Regions from separate parts of the Homo sapiens genome. Here region 1 is linked to region 2. Evidence: promoter capture Hi-C in human tissues and cell types (Jung and others, 2019). All regions are on one chromosome and are shown on one strand. Each heading gives the region's core, a stretch centred on a gene start or on the middle of the fragment in contact. The rest is flanking DNA. Distances are from core to core; before and after follow the strand shown.

The links. The method cuts DNA at HindIII sites, captures the fragments that hold promoters and counts their contacts. A contact is called where the count stands out against the background at its distance.
Region 1: a contact is called between a fragment that was not itself captured here and the fragment with the promoter of SNX9 in region 2, in 1 of the 25 tissues and cell types used here (hippocampus).

What each region holds. Positions count from the first base shown.
Region 1 is chr6:157,318,300-157,324,521 of GRCh38, reverse strand. It overlaps TMEM242 (transmembrane protein 242), which reads left to right and starts at 1,003. Exons shown (of 4, transcript NM_018452.6): 1 at 1,003-1,110; 2 at 1,717-1,817; 3 at 5,603-5,740. The coding sequence starts at 1,023. TMEM242-DT (TMEM242 divergent transcript) reads right to left here and starts at 888. Exons shown (of 1, transcript NR_187268.1): 1 at 45-888. RefSeq lists enhancers at 291-720, 901-1,240. The HindIII fragment of the contact is 4,705 bases long and covers 2,314-6,222 here.
Region 2 is chr6:157,821,836-157,828,854 of GRCh38, reverse strand. SNX9 (sorting nexin 9) reads right to left here and starts at 5,609. Exons shown (of 18, transcript NM_016224.5): 1 at 5,409-5,609. The coding sequence starts at 5,420. RefSeq lists an enhancer at 4,781-4,830 and a silencer at 5,481-5,800. The HindIII fragment of the contact is 8,295 bases long and covers 1-6,988 here.

The DNA.
Region 1 (6,222 bases), core at 3,417-5,916, 500 kb after region 2:
GAGCCCAGGTTTGAGCTATTAACTGCACTTCACTGACGCAAAAATGGATGCATTCATTTACTCATTCATCCAACATGCATTTGATGTTGGTAACCAGTTAATATCTGAAAGCTGGGGGATATAAACTGAACATAGAGTCCCATCTCCATCCTCAGGAAACTCATGCCCTCCGGTGATGGGGGGCAGGACAAATAGCAGAGAGACCGCCTTATTTTACAAGATGTCATTGTTCTCTGAGAGGCTGAAAAGATTTTCTATCACCACTAGCCTCCTCCTCTCCACGGCCATTTACAGAATGGGCAAACCAGCCTCCCAGCGGAAGACCAAGCTTGCTAGCGGTCAACGTTGCCGGCAGCTCTGCAAGCGCTTCCAGCGGGCGTCGCTCTCCTTTCGGGGGTGGTACTTTCATTCGGTCATCCTGTGAGTGTTCCACTTCCCGACGGAGGCCGAGCACTCACACCGCGGCGGAGGTACCCGTCACCGCAGAACCGGGTGGCTGGCTCTCCTCCAGGGAGAAAGCCTGTCACTTATTCCTCAACACTGTTGGGAAGTTACCTAGAAAAGTACAGACAGAAGACCTAGGCTTGCGTTTTAGAATCGTGGAGTGTTAGCGCTGGCCAAATCGTTGGACACAATGTAAGCTTGATCAGGAAAATGAGCTCCAGGGTCTCACAGGCGGGGCCTGGAATCTTGGCGCAATCTGCGACCCTCACTGCCTCCTACAGTCGGGGCTGAGCGTTCTTTCAAACAGCCAAAGTAATCACTTAAGTCCAGCAATGATCTCCTTGGAGAAATCAAAAGATCCTCCCTAAGAGACGGCCTTGGAGGGCATCGCCCCTGGGGCTGGGCACAGCACGTCTTCCCGGCCCCGGCGCGGGAGGAGGGTTTGGGGACAGCGGCCGCACTCCGGACCCTTCTTCAGATTGCACAGGAGGAGGCGGTAGCGGAACCTTTCTCCTCCGCCTGGTTCTCGCTTCCACCCGGGCCCAGTTGGGGACGGACGCACTAGAGGCGACCTAAACATGGAGACAGCGGGCGCTGCAACTGGGCAGCCGGCCTCTGGGCTGGAGGCTCCGGGGTCCACGAATGACCGGCTTTTCCTGGTTAAAGGTAAGATGTGCTGTGGTGAGGTGCGGGCGTCGGGGTGAGTTAACCCCGGACCCTGGCTTGCTCTGGAGCGGGCATTCCCACACACATCCCGCTCTGAGAGCCCTTAGCTTGTGCTTGCCCCTGAGTTTAGCCCGCGGAGTCTGGCGGCCCAGGGAGGGTAGGTCGCTTACTGGGTGGAGTCTCCCCTTGGGCGGGGCGGGGGGCAGATCCCGCGAGCTATTCTCCCGGGCGTGCCATATTTCCCCGTCACCTCTGCAATTGTTCTAGAGCCTTGCCTTTTCTGATTGCCATCGTCTCTTCTCCTCCCCGTGAGAAACTTCACGCTGTGGTCCCAGGGGAGAGGGGAAGGGAAGCTGAACCTTTTCTCTGCGCTCGGGAATAATAATTCGGAATGACCCAAGGAACCAGAGGTCGTGCGGTCACGCGTGTTTCTCAGCCGCTGTCATTTACTGTTAGCAAGAGCTGCTTAGCCATGGTTTCTTGAATTTCAAAAGTGATTTTGATTGTAACTCGAATAGTATCTTAAACTTACTTTTGTACATCTTTTTAACCTCTTTTTATTTAATTTTTTTTAATATCCCCCCTCCTCCCCGAAACTCTTGGCAGGTGGAATTTTCCTTGGTACCGTTGCTGCAGCGGGAATGCTAGCTGGATTTATTACAACATTATCATTGGCTAAAAAGAAAAGCCCTGAATGGTTCAATAAGGTTGGTGACACTGAAATCCATTCATAGCATTGTTATTGTTTACAATATATGGCAGCTTTTGCGTAGAAAAAATAAAATATTGATGGTCTTTCACATTGCTTTAAGATGTGAATTTATATACGCTCATGGATTCTAGAAATGTACAAATTAACCAAGTCTTTATTTTCATTTAGAAGGATGTACTTATGTGCTTTCTTAAATTTTAGCGGAACAAGACTTTGAAAGCTTATCTGGTACATTTCCTATTCACAACATGACTTTGAATCTAAATTTGGGCCAGGCATCGTGGTTCATGCCTGTAATCCCAGCACTTTGGGAAGCCGAGAGGGGCAGATCACCTGAGGTCAGGAGTTTGAGACCAGCCTGGCCAACATGGCGAAAACCCATCTCTACTAAAAATACAAAAATGAGCCAGGTGTGGTGTGGCACTCCTGTAGTCCTAGCTACTCGGGAGGCTGAGGCAGGAGAATCACTTGAACCCAGGAGGCTGAGGTTGTAGTGAGCCCAGATAACACCACTGCACTTCAACCTGGGTGACAGAGCGAGACTCTGTCTCAAAAATAAATAAATAAATATTCACACAAATAACTGTGTAATTACAATTTGATGTGTGCTATGGAGGAAAAGTGTTACGTAAAACATCATAAAAAGTCAAGTTTCCTTTCCACTTACATTTATCTTTAATAATCATACTTAAGCCTTATCGATACCATAATGGCAAGAGACCATGTTTAAAGTGTGCTTGGATCCCCTCTGAATGCTCTAAGCTTATATGGAGCTTCCTAAATCACTGCTATGGACCTTGTGGGTCATTTTCTCTCTATGTTATAGAATGTTTTCAGAGCAGAAATATATTTTGTGGTGGAAATCAGAGTAGTGCCTTAACAGTAGAGTTTTGGTTGATTTCTAAGCCTAAGTTATGTTAATCCTTGGCTCACTGATCTTTTTAATAATCTGATGAAAACTAGGGATTCTCTGGGGCTGAAGAGCGCACGTACACATATCACAACTTTCCATCCTATTTTGTTATTCTGAGATTTGATCATCACAGATGCTCTTCGGGGTCTAACAGTGGTTTTCAAACTGCAGTCCACAGAACCCTGCTGATCCTTGATCCTTGGGTCCATGAAGTCAGAACTATTTTCATAATGATACTAAGATGCTTGTACTAATGGTACAGAGGCAATGGAGAGTAAAACTGCTGATACCTTGGTCTAAGGCAGTAGCACCAAACTGTGAAAGTCCTTGTGTCCTTCATTACAAAGTACCTGTATTTTTTAAAGCCAGTATTACTTAACAGTGTCCTTGTTGAAGAAATAAAATAGTTAATTTTATTAAATCATGACCTTCAAATAAACCTCATTTTAATATTCTGTGTAAAGAAATGGGAAATACAAGGCCGGGCGAGGTGGCTCACGCTTGTAATCCCAGCACTTAGGGAGGCCAAGGCGGGCGGATCATGAGGTCAGGAGACTGAGACCATCCTTGCTAACACGATGAAACCCCGTCTCTACTAAAAATACAAAAGAATTAACTGGGCGGGTGGCGGGTGCCTGTAGTCCCAGCTACTCGGGAGGCTGAGGCAGGAGAATGGCGTGAACCCGGGAGGCGGAGCTTGCAGTAAGCCGAGATTTCGCCACTGCACTCCAGCCTGGGTGACAGAGCGAGACTCCGTCTCAAAAAAAAAAAAAAGAAAAAAAAAAAAAGAAATGGGAAATAAATACATAAAGCATTTCTATTTTATACTGAAGTAGGATTTTTTCTCTAGAAAAGCAATTGAATTGCAAGCTGAACTAGCCACTTTTTTCCTATAGAATATCATTTTTACTTGAAAGAATATTTGGCAGACATCTTAACAATGAATAAAATGAGCTTGTCTTTTCAAGCAAACAATTGTCAGTATTTATTGCCACTGATAAAATTCAAGCTTTCAAGTGAAAATTAGATTTTAGAAAACTTTTATCCCAGCACTTTGGGAGGCTGAGGGAGGCGGATCACTTTAGGCCAGGAGTTTGAGACCAGCCTGGGCAACACGGTGAAACCCCATCTCTACTAAAAATACAAAAATTAGCTGGGCATGGTGGCATGCACCTGTAATCCCAGCTACTTGGGAGGCTGAGGCACAAGAATTGCTTGAACCTGGAAGGTGGAGGTTGCAGTGAGCTGAGATCACGCCACTACACTCCAGCCTGGGTGACAGAGCGAGACTCCATCTCAAAAAATATAAATAAATAAAAGACTAACAAAAATGTAAAACATTGTCTCTCTTTGCACAGTTTTGTTTTGGAAAAGTAATTTTTCATAAAAAATAGGCTTATATTAATCTAAAATGATTTACTATTTTTAAATGACTAATATAATTTAAGAATTTCATAGTTTTAATTTCTAATACATTAAATATTGATAAATACAACCCACTTAATTGAAAGTCTTTAGGGCCCAAGTGTAAAGGGATCCTGAGACCAGGTAGTTTGAGAACCCCTGTTTTAGATGGTTCTGTCTCCCTCTGGGAAAACACTGGAATTAGAGTATGACCACTTACCCAGACTCTGTTTCAGAGGTAAAATTGTTTGTAGAAGAACTCAGAGATTTTGGAGCACACAGTTAATGCGTTTATACTGAGCAAGCACCAGTCTAAGAATCTCACTTAGTCAGTGCACTTCACAGTTGCCACCTGGAGGTCTTTTCTAACATTGATAATATCTAATATTTGAGTGCTTAGCATGTGCTGGCTGTTCTTCTGCGGGCTTGACTCATTGAACTCTCCTCACACCCTATGCAGCACCGTTATGTGTGGTCCCCATTAAAGGGCAGGAAACTGAGGCACAGATGAATTAAGCAACTTGCCCAACATGGTACTCTTCCCATCTTGGGATACTTCTAGGGAAGAAATGATACAATTTTTAGTAATCTTGCTATTTAAACAGACTTCTATCCATTAGCCTGGGATTCTAGGTATTAAAACAGATTCAAATTGCAACCCCAGAGGACATTAAAATGATAAACTTTTCAGTTGGGGACTGCCTACACTGCTTTTATTTTGGGATGATAGTTATCCTTTTAATGTCCTGTTCTCATTTTCTTAGCTGTGTGTCATGCAAAACAACTGGGAGTTGAAAAGCAATAATAGATGCTGAATGGACATTCATTTTTCTTTGTAGTTCCCTGAATAAACAGAAAGAGGAAGGTGCAAGCTAAAAGTGGCGAAGTAATTTACTCTTGAGCTTCTTTGGTCGATCTATTAAAATAGATCAACATTTTTGTTAACTAGTCTATCCTGCATTTATACATCAGTCTCATAATCGGTAGACTAAATGAGGTGCTATGAGAGAAAATAACATGTATTATATGTCTATTTGGTTAAAATAACTGAAGAAAGTACATAATGTTTACACACATGCAAAGTTTACTTATCTGAAATATCTGGTGCCCTTGCTCATCTTAATATTATGGCAGGAAAAACATTCATAAAATAACTGAGTTATTTTAATACCACTTTAATGTCATTCTGTGAAAATGCCAATGAATGGGGGATAGAGAAATCTTGACAAAATGGTCTAGGATTTTTCTGGAAGAATTAACAGGCAAGGTGCCTTGCATACTCAAATATCTGTGAGTCAGAGAAGGCATGCAATTATTAAGTAGCAAAGCCAGAATTAGACCTTGGGTTGATTTAGCTTCCTAATATCATGTTGTTTGCACAGAGAGGAATTTGCAAACACCCCCAGAATGCTTATTCTTTCTGCACTGATTGTTTTTACCTCAACTTTTCTGTTTCATTTCAGGGAAGTATGGCCACGGCTGCATTACCGGAAAGCGGGTCTTCCCTTGCCTTGCGAGCTCTGGGCTGGGGCTCCCTGTATGCATGGTGTGGGGTTGGTGTGATTAGCTTCGCAGTCTGGAAAGCTTTAGGAGTTCACAGTGTAAGTAACTACTGTCTTGTCCCTGGTATCTACATGTTTATTCTGCTTACTGTGTTCTAAATTTTTCTGGTTTTCAAATTTATTTGCATGTAGTTTGGTCACTGTCTAGGGAGATGATGACAGAGTACGTGACTAAATTCTTACAAATAACTAGACAACTTCTTATTACTAATAAATACAATTTTTGAAGGTGGTAAAACTTCAAATATAATTAAGTAATGACTAATTTATAGCTAATGTTCTATATAAATTGACATTAGGGCGAGTGCAGTGGGTTATGCCTGTAATCCCAGCACCTTGGGAGCCTGCGGCAGGCAAATCACTTGAGCTCTGAAGTCCAAAACCAGCCTGGGCAATGTAAAGAAACCCTGTCTCTATAAAAAAATTAGCTGGGTGTGGTGGCATGCGCCTATAGTCCTAGCTACTCAGAAGGCTGAGGGAGGAGGATCACCTGAGCCTCACAGGCTGAGGCTGCAGTGTGC
Region 2 (7,019 bases), core at 4,360-6,859:
TGACCCTGAAACAGGGGCGGGGACATCAGGAAAGGCTTTCCCGGGGAAGTGATGCTTAGACGCATTAAGACCTAATATGTGGCCAGGCGTAGTGTCTCAAACCTGTAATCCCAATACTTTGCGGGGCTGAGGAGGAAGGATCACCTCAGTTCAGGACACATGGTGAAACCCCATCTCTACAAAAAATACAAAAAGTAGCTGGGCATGGTGGTGCACACCTGTAGTCCCAGCTACTTGGGAGACTGAGGTGGAAGGATCACCTGAGCCAGGGAAGTCGAGACTGCCGTGAGCTGTGTTCGTGCCACTGCACTCCAGCCTGGATGACAAAGTGAGACCCTGTCTCCAAAAAAAAAATAATAATAATCATAATCATAAAAACTTAACATCTAAAAACAAAGTACCTAGGGAAGGACAAGGGAGAACAGCATTCCAGAAAAGAAACAGCAGTACTGCAAAGCTACAAAGTTTTAAGTGGACAATTAAAGTAAAACTATAATTTAATTTTCAGATGGTCAATATAAAAACAAGGCACAGTAGAAAAACTGCAACATTTTTATGCTTTCTAATCTATTCCTTCTTTAATGAGACTTGTTCATCTTTCTACTGTCACAGAACTTATCTTTGACTATACAAATACTGCACACTCTACTTAAGACACATAGAAAATACTACTGTTATACAAAGTTAAATGGTTAGCATTTTCCAAACATTTTAAAAGCCATAAAAATCAACTTTAATCCTTAAGACCTGTTAGAAAGATATTTCTATTCTAGTCGTCAAATAAAGAAGTTTCTGCTCTGGAGGGGCTACAAAGTATGCCTTCTGAATTGTTCTCACTAATCTATGCATGGAATAAACAAGTCTTAAGTAATTCATTTATTCCCTACCATTATTTTTAACATTCCATACCCACTTAATTTAACCAGACAAGCTGTGTAACACATGTGTATAACTTTAGGTATTGGAACCGAAGAGTTAAAAAAAAAAAAAAAGCATCAGGAACTCCTAGAATCTTGTTATAGTTAGCCTAAAGGTGACTATGTAAGCACAAAAGGATCCAAATTAGTGACTGAAGGTTAACTTTGACGTAGAAATTACAGCTAAATTATATAGATATGGATTAACCTCCACTAACAATTTTCTTCATGTCCCCTTTGACAGACACTGAAAAAAAATTCTTCATTTCTTTTCCAGAACTTGATCTTTTAAATAAAACAGGATGACTGACAATGTATTATATATTTATATATCTCATATATATATAAACTATAATATAATATATATTTATATATTATATAAACTATAATATAATATATGTTTATATATTATATAAACTATATGTTTATATATTATATAAACTATAAGTTTATATATTATATAAACTATAAGTTTATATATTATATAAACTATAATATATGTTTATATATTATATAAACTATAATATATGTTTATATATTATATAAACTATAATATATGTTTATATATTATATAAACTATAATATATGTTTATATATTATATAAACTATAATATATGTTTATATATTATATAAACTATAATATATGTTTATATATTATATAAACTATAATATATGTTTATATATTATATAAACTATAATATATGTTTATATATTATATAAACTATAATATATGTTTATATATTATATAAACTATAATATATGTTTATATATTATATAAACTATAATATATATGTATATATTATATAAACTATAATATATATGTATATATTATATAAACTATAATATATGTTTATATATTATATAAACTATAATATATGTTTATATATTATATAAACTATAATATATATGTATATATTATATAAACTATAATATATATGTATATATTATATAAACTATAATATATATGTATATATTATATAAACTATAATATATTTTATATATTATATAAACTATAATATATTTTATATATTATATAAACTATAATATATATTTATATATTATATAAACTATAATATATATTTATATATAAAATATAATATATATATAAAATATAATATATATTTATATATAAAATATAATATATATATATAATATAATATATTTATATATCATATATATATAAAACCTATAATATAAATAGGTTATATTTTGGCTGGGTCGAAATATAACCTTTGGAGGCTTCCAATAAAGGTCAAGACTAAAATGCTCTGCAGCTTTTGTATTAATATTTGTAAAACAAGACTTGATTGCACTGAGTGAGTGTATACACTTAAACTGAATGCAGCACTCTACTGAGTAAGGAGTAGAAATAGAAAATAGATAATCCCCTTAAAATGTGCAGTTACTGATTAACTTTCCTTTTTTTTTTTTTTTTCTTGAGATGGAGTCTCACTCTGTCACCCAGGCTGGAGTGCAGTGGCGCAAAATCGGCTCACTGCAAGTTCTGCCTCCCGGGTTCACGCTATTCTCCTGCCTCAGCCTCCCGAGTAGCTGGGACTACAGGCGCCCGCCACCACGCCCAGCTAATTTTTTTTGTATTTTTAGTATAGATGGAGTTTCACCGTGTTAGCCAGGATGGTCTCGATCTCCCGACCTCGTGATCCGCCCGCCTCGGCCTCCCAAAGTGCTAGGATTACAGGCGTGAGACGGCGCCCGACCCTGATTAACTTTCTTTAGCAGTGAAGGACTGTCAAACTAAAGTTCTTCTTCTAAAAGATAATTTCCTTTTTTATTGTAAAATATAGTAGTGGAGTTTTTAAAAATCCCAATAGTTCAGTGATAACCACATCCTTAATACGTAAGAACAAACAAGAAAATTGTATCTGAAGATACTATAGCCAAGTCTCTGATAAATTCAAAGGGAAATCGACATCCCTTAAAATATCCAGATACTGAATTTACTTTTCATCAGTTAATACTTATAGCAACAGCCTGAGTGCCACTGGAGCCTACATTTTTATTAAAAGTTAGTCATTACTACTAAGCACATTCTCCCCACCCCTTGAAGAAGACAAAGAAAAAACACAACTACTCAGGTGTGGGGAAGGAGTGTGCATATGGGGGAAGGGAGGAAAGCACCAACTTGACTCTCTGGGAACAATTAAAAAATGAGACTTTGGTTTGACACAAGAATCACCAGCATGTCAGAAAACAAAGGAAGGGTCTTCTTTTAATAACTGCTTCGTTGCTCTTCTTTTTCTTAAAATGGAAATGGTTTGTCACAATGTAAACATGGAAATGAGCACCATGTGGAACAGTGATTAGGCAGCCGAAAGAAACTAACAGAACTACTGGAATTTGCCTTTGGAGTGGTGTAGATAACGAAGTAGGAAGTCCTTACGCATGCTTTAAGGCTCGTGTTTAATCAAAGACACATGCAATTCGAGATTAATATACAAGAACCACTTTTCGATTTTTTGGAAAAAAATTAAGTTCAGGATTAACTATGAAATAAAAATTTCACTATATATACCTGCACTAGTTGCTAAACTGCATTCCACTTAAAGGACAGTACAGATAACATGCCTCAGTAGACCAGAGTGTAAAAACACACTGACCACCACTAGACAGATCTCTATGTCATAAACCGTCTTCTCTTTTTTCAAACGGAGTCTCGTCTTTTCTTTTTTCAAACGGAGTCTCGCTCTGTCGCCCAGGCTGGAGTGCAGTGGCGCGATCTCGGATCACTGCAACCTCCGCCTCCCGGGTTCAAGCGATTCTCCTGCCTCAGCCTCCAGAGCAGCTGGGGCTACAGGCGCGCGCCACCACGCCCAGCTAATTTCTGTATTTTTAGTAGAGACAGGGTTTCACCATATTGGCCAGGCTTGTCTCGAGCTCCCGACCTCAGGTGAACCACCCACCGCGGCCTCCCAAAGTGCTGGAATTACAGGTGGGAGTGAGCCACCGCGCCCGGCCTATAAACCGCTTTTAAGGTTGCAAGATGAGCATGTACTAGGATGTGTAACTGGTAATTTCTGGAATGTCTGGCAACAAACCTCAAAATCAAATTTCCTTAGAAATCCTTGGCCTAAGTTTTATTTTTAAAAAGGTCAACACAAAATTAATACGTTAAAAAGGTGGCAAGTTCTATCGCATTAATAAAACCAAAGCACAGCACAGGCAATAATATATTAACAAGAAGGTAATTATTTCAGTAACAGCAGCAACAGGTTCCCTGGAGGAGAATCCCCATTTCTCTACAAACGCTGCACCTAGATGGATTCAGAGCACAAAATTTACCACAGCACAACATCTAGCAGACCGAAGTCAAGCAATGCTGATCTTTCAAAGAGATTTCACATTTCTTACCATTTTCTACCTTAACACTCCACAAAAAAAGCAAACACCTATCGAAAAATAAAAAATAACGTTTCTAGCAACCCAAAAGTAGCTCAGAGATCTCAAAAACAAATAGACAAAGGGGTGCTGATGCTAACAAAGTGACATTACAAAAACTAAGTGCAAAAGTAAACCCACTCCTCACAGTGTATCACAGATCAGTTAATGGCTCAGGTATAGAGCCTCCTCCCCCAGGTCCTCCCTTCCGTGACCGTGACTTCCCCAGTGGCTATTCTACATCAAGTAACTACTGAAAACGCCCAAGGAAAAGGAGCGGGGGAGGGTGGCTTTTGAAAATTCAGGTAGCCAAGAGTGACTGCTAATTTCATAAACAATAACGTAAAACAAGCAAACCACCGCTCCTAGCCAATGACGAAGCAGGAGTCAAAGTTCCACCACGTAATTCGGGCCTGGGCCTTTTTTCAGGCAAACACGTAATCGAAAGCACAGTCATTTCCCTCTTGATATTTTATTCATGCCGGCAATGCCATTCACAATGAAAAGGTAGCAAAACAAAAGAAAAAAATAACAGCAGCGAAGGCAAAGGGGCGCGGGGCGTCCCAGCCTCGGTCCCTCCCCGGCCGCGAGCCCCCGCAGGCCGGGACGGGAAGCGCCGCGTCCTCTCCGCCGAGGTCTCGACCCCCACCCGCCCCGCGGGGGCGAGGGTCCCCCAGGCGGCAGCGGGAGGGGACGTGGGGGCGGCGGGGACGCCGGACGCCACAGAGCGCCAGTCGCCTCGGGGGCCTCCCCGGGCTGCGGGAAGTTTCCGTCCCGCGGCCCCTCCCGGCGAGCCCGCCGCAGCCCACGCTCAGGTGCAAACTTCCCAAACCTCGCTGCGCCCGGGGTCCCAACCCGCGCCCAGACCCGACGCCGTCCCCCGGTGCGATCCTGGTGGTCTGTCTGCACTGCCCGCCGCACCCATGCCCAGAAGGGACTGGCTGGGCCGCGGACCCGCCCGGGGACTCCACCGAGGAAGCGGAGTGGCCCCTCGACCACCCCTGGCCCCGACCCTCCCCGCGGCCCCGGCCCCGACCCTCTCCGCGCCGCCCCGGGCCTGAGCGACCGGCCCGGCCTGCGCCGCGCGCCCCTCACCTTGGTGGCCATGGCGGGCGGGTCCCCCGGCCCGGGACGGCCGGCTCGTCTCCCGCGCCGCGGATGGTGATTCTGAGCCGCGCAGGCAAAGGCAAGGGCGAGGGCGGCGGCTCCGGCTGGGCCCCGGCGCGGCGGCCGCTCCTCCGCCTCGGCCCCGAGTCTCGACGCTCAGGCCCAGCCGCTGGGCGCTCGGCTACTCCCGCGCCGCACGCTCCTGCAGTTCCTGAAAGTCCCCGGCTGCGCGGCCCCCGCCCCTGTCGGCCGAGCCTCCCATTTACCGCGGCGCGCGCGACGCCCGCCGGAAGCGCGCCCTGGGCCCTCGGCCGCGGCCCGGCCTCCTCGCCTCCTGGCCGCCCCCGCGCCGCGCCGCCGCCCCGGGCAGTCACCGCCGCCGCCGCCGCCGCCGCCCCCGGGCGCCCTTGGTCGAGGCTGGGAGCGGCGTCCCGCGCAGCGGCGGGGTCCGGACGGGCGCCCCAGGCCATGGCCCGCAACCCTGCGTGGCCGCCCCAGGGGAAGCGATCCGCGGCCCACAGAGCCGCTCGGGGTAGCCGAACCCCGACTCCGGTTCACGCTCGGCCGGCGCCGCACGCCGTGGCTCGGCGCTTTCCGTGCATGAGGCGGGAGGGGGCGGCAGGAACTCTCGACGCCCCGGGCAGACAGGAGCCCCGCAACCCCGCTGTCTTTGCCCCACGCCTGGGGTGTTGCGGGGTCGCCGTGCCCTTGGCCGAGTACCCTGAGTACCACATAAACAGCTGGGAAGGAGCGGAGCGATGGCTTCCTGGGCCTCTTCCTCCTGCCCGGAGGCTCCCTCAGGCCGGGGTCCTGGCTTGAAGCCCCTGGGACGGGACGGTGGGGGGTTTCGTTCTGTGACGCCCCGTTAACCTCATTCTGGAATCTTGATAAGCTTAAAAATACCGGAGGGCCCGAGAGGTTTGGGGGACAACAGGCTCTCTGAAGTGGAAACGAGGTCTCTAAAATTTTCCATCTTTCTGTCAGTGTTTCTTTCCAGAGTTGGAGATATATATATGGGTGTTATGAATAAACGAATGACTTGAATTGAGCAGCAAGATTTTTCACTCAAGGACAAAACACGACTGGAAGATGTGTCTTAATTGGCATACTAGTGGAGTGCTTTTTTATTATTATGAGGGATATATTTGTAAGAAGAGACAACTATCAAATGTAAATCTCTGGTGTTTAATGTCAAGTTTGTGTCTTCTTAAATACATTCTATTTGACCTGAGATTTCACTAGTTATATTCAATAATGGGGTTTAAAATAGATACGGTATTGCAGAATTTTCTGTGAATTTTTGTGTTTGTTGAGCTCATGGTTAAGCTATAGTCATCATAATATGCATAAATAGTTGTCTTTCTCCGTAAAAAAAAATATTGGGAGGCCAACATTCATTGACGGCCTGCTTGCTGTATACTAGGCTTCCACATCCCCATCTCATTTAATCCTTATAAGAAACATTTGAGAAACTCATTATTGTCCACTGTTTACAAAGAAGAGCGACTCAGGGATCACTTAAATAACTTGCCCATTTGGTAATACTTATTCAAATCGAAAATGACCGTAGCCTTGGACCCAGCAGCCCTCCTGGGAATT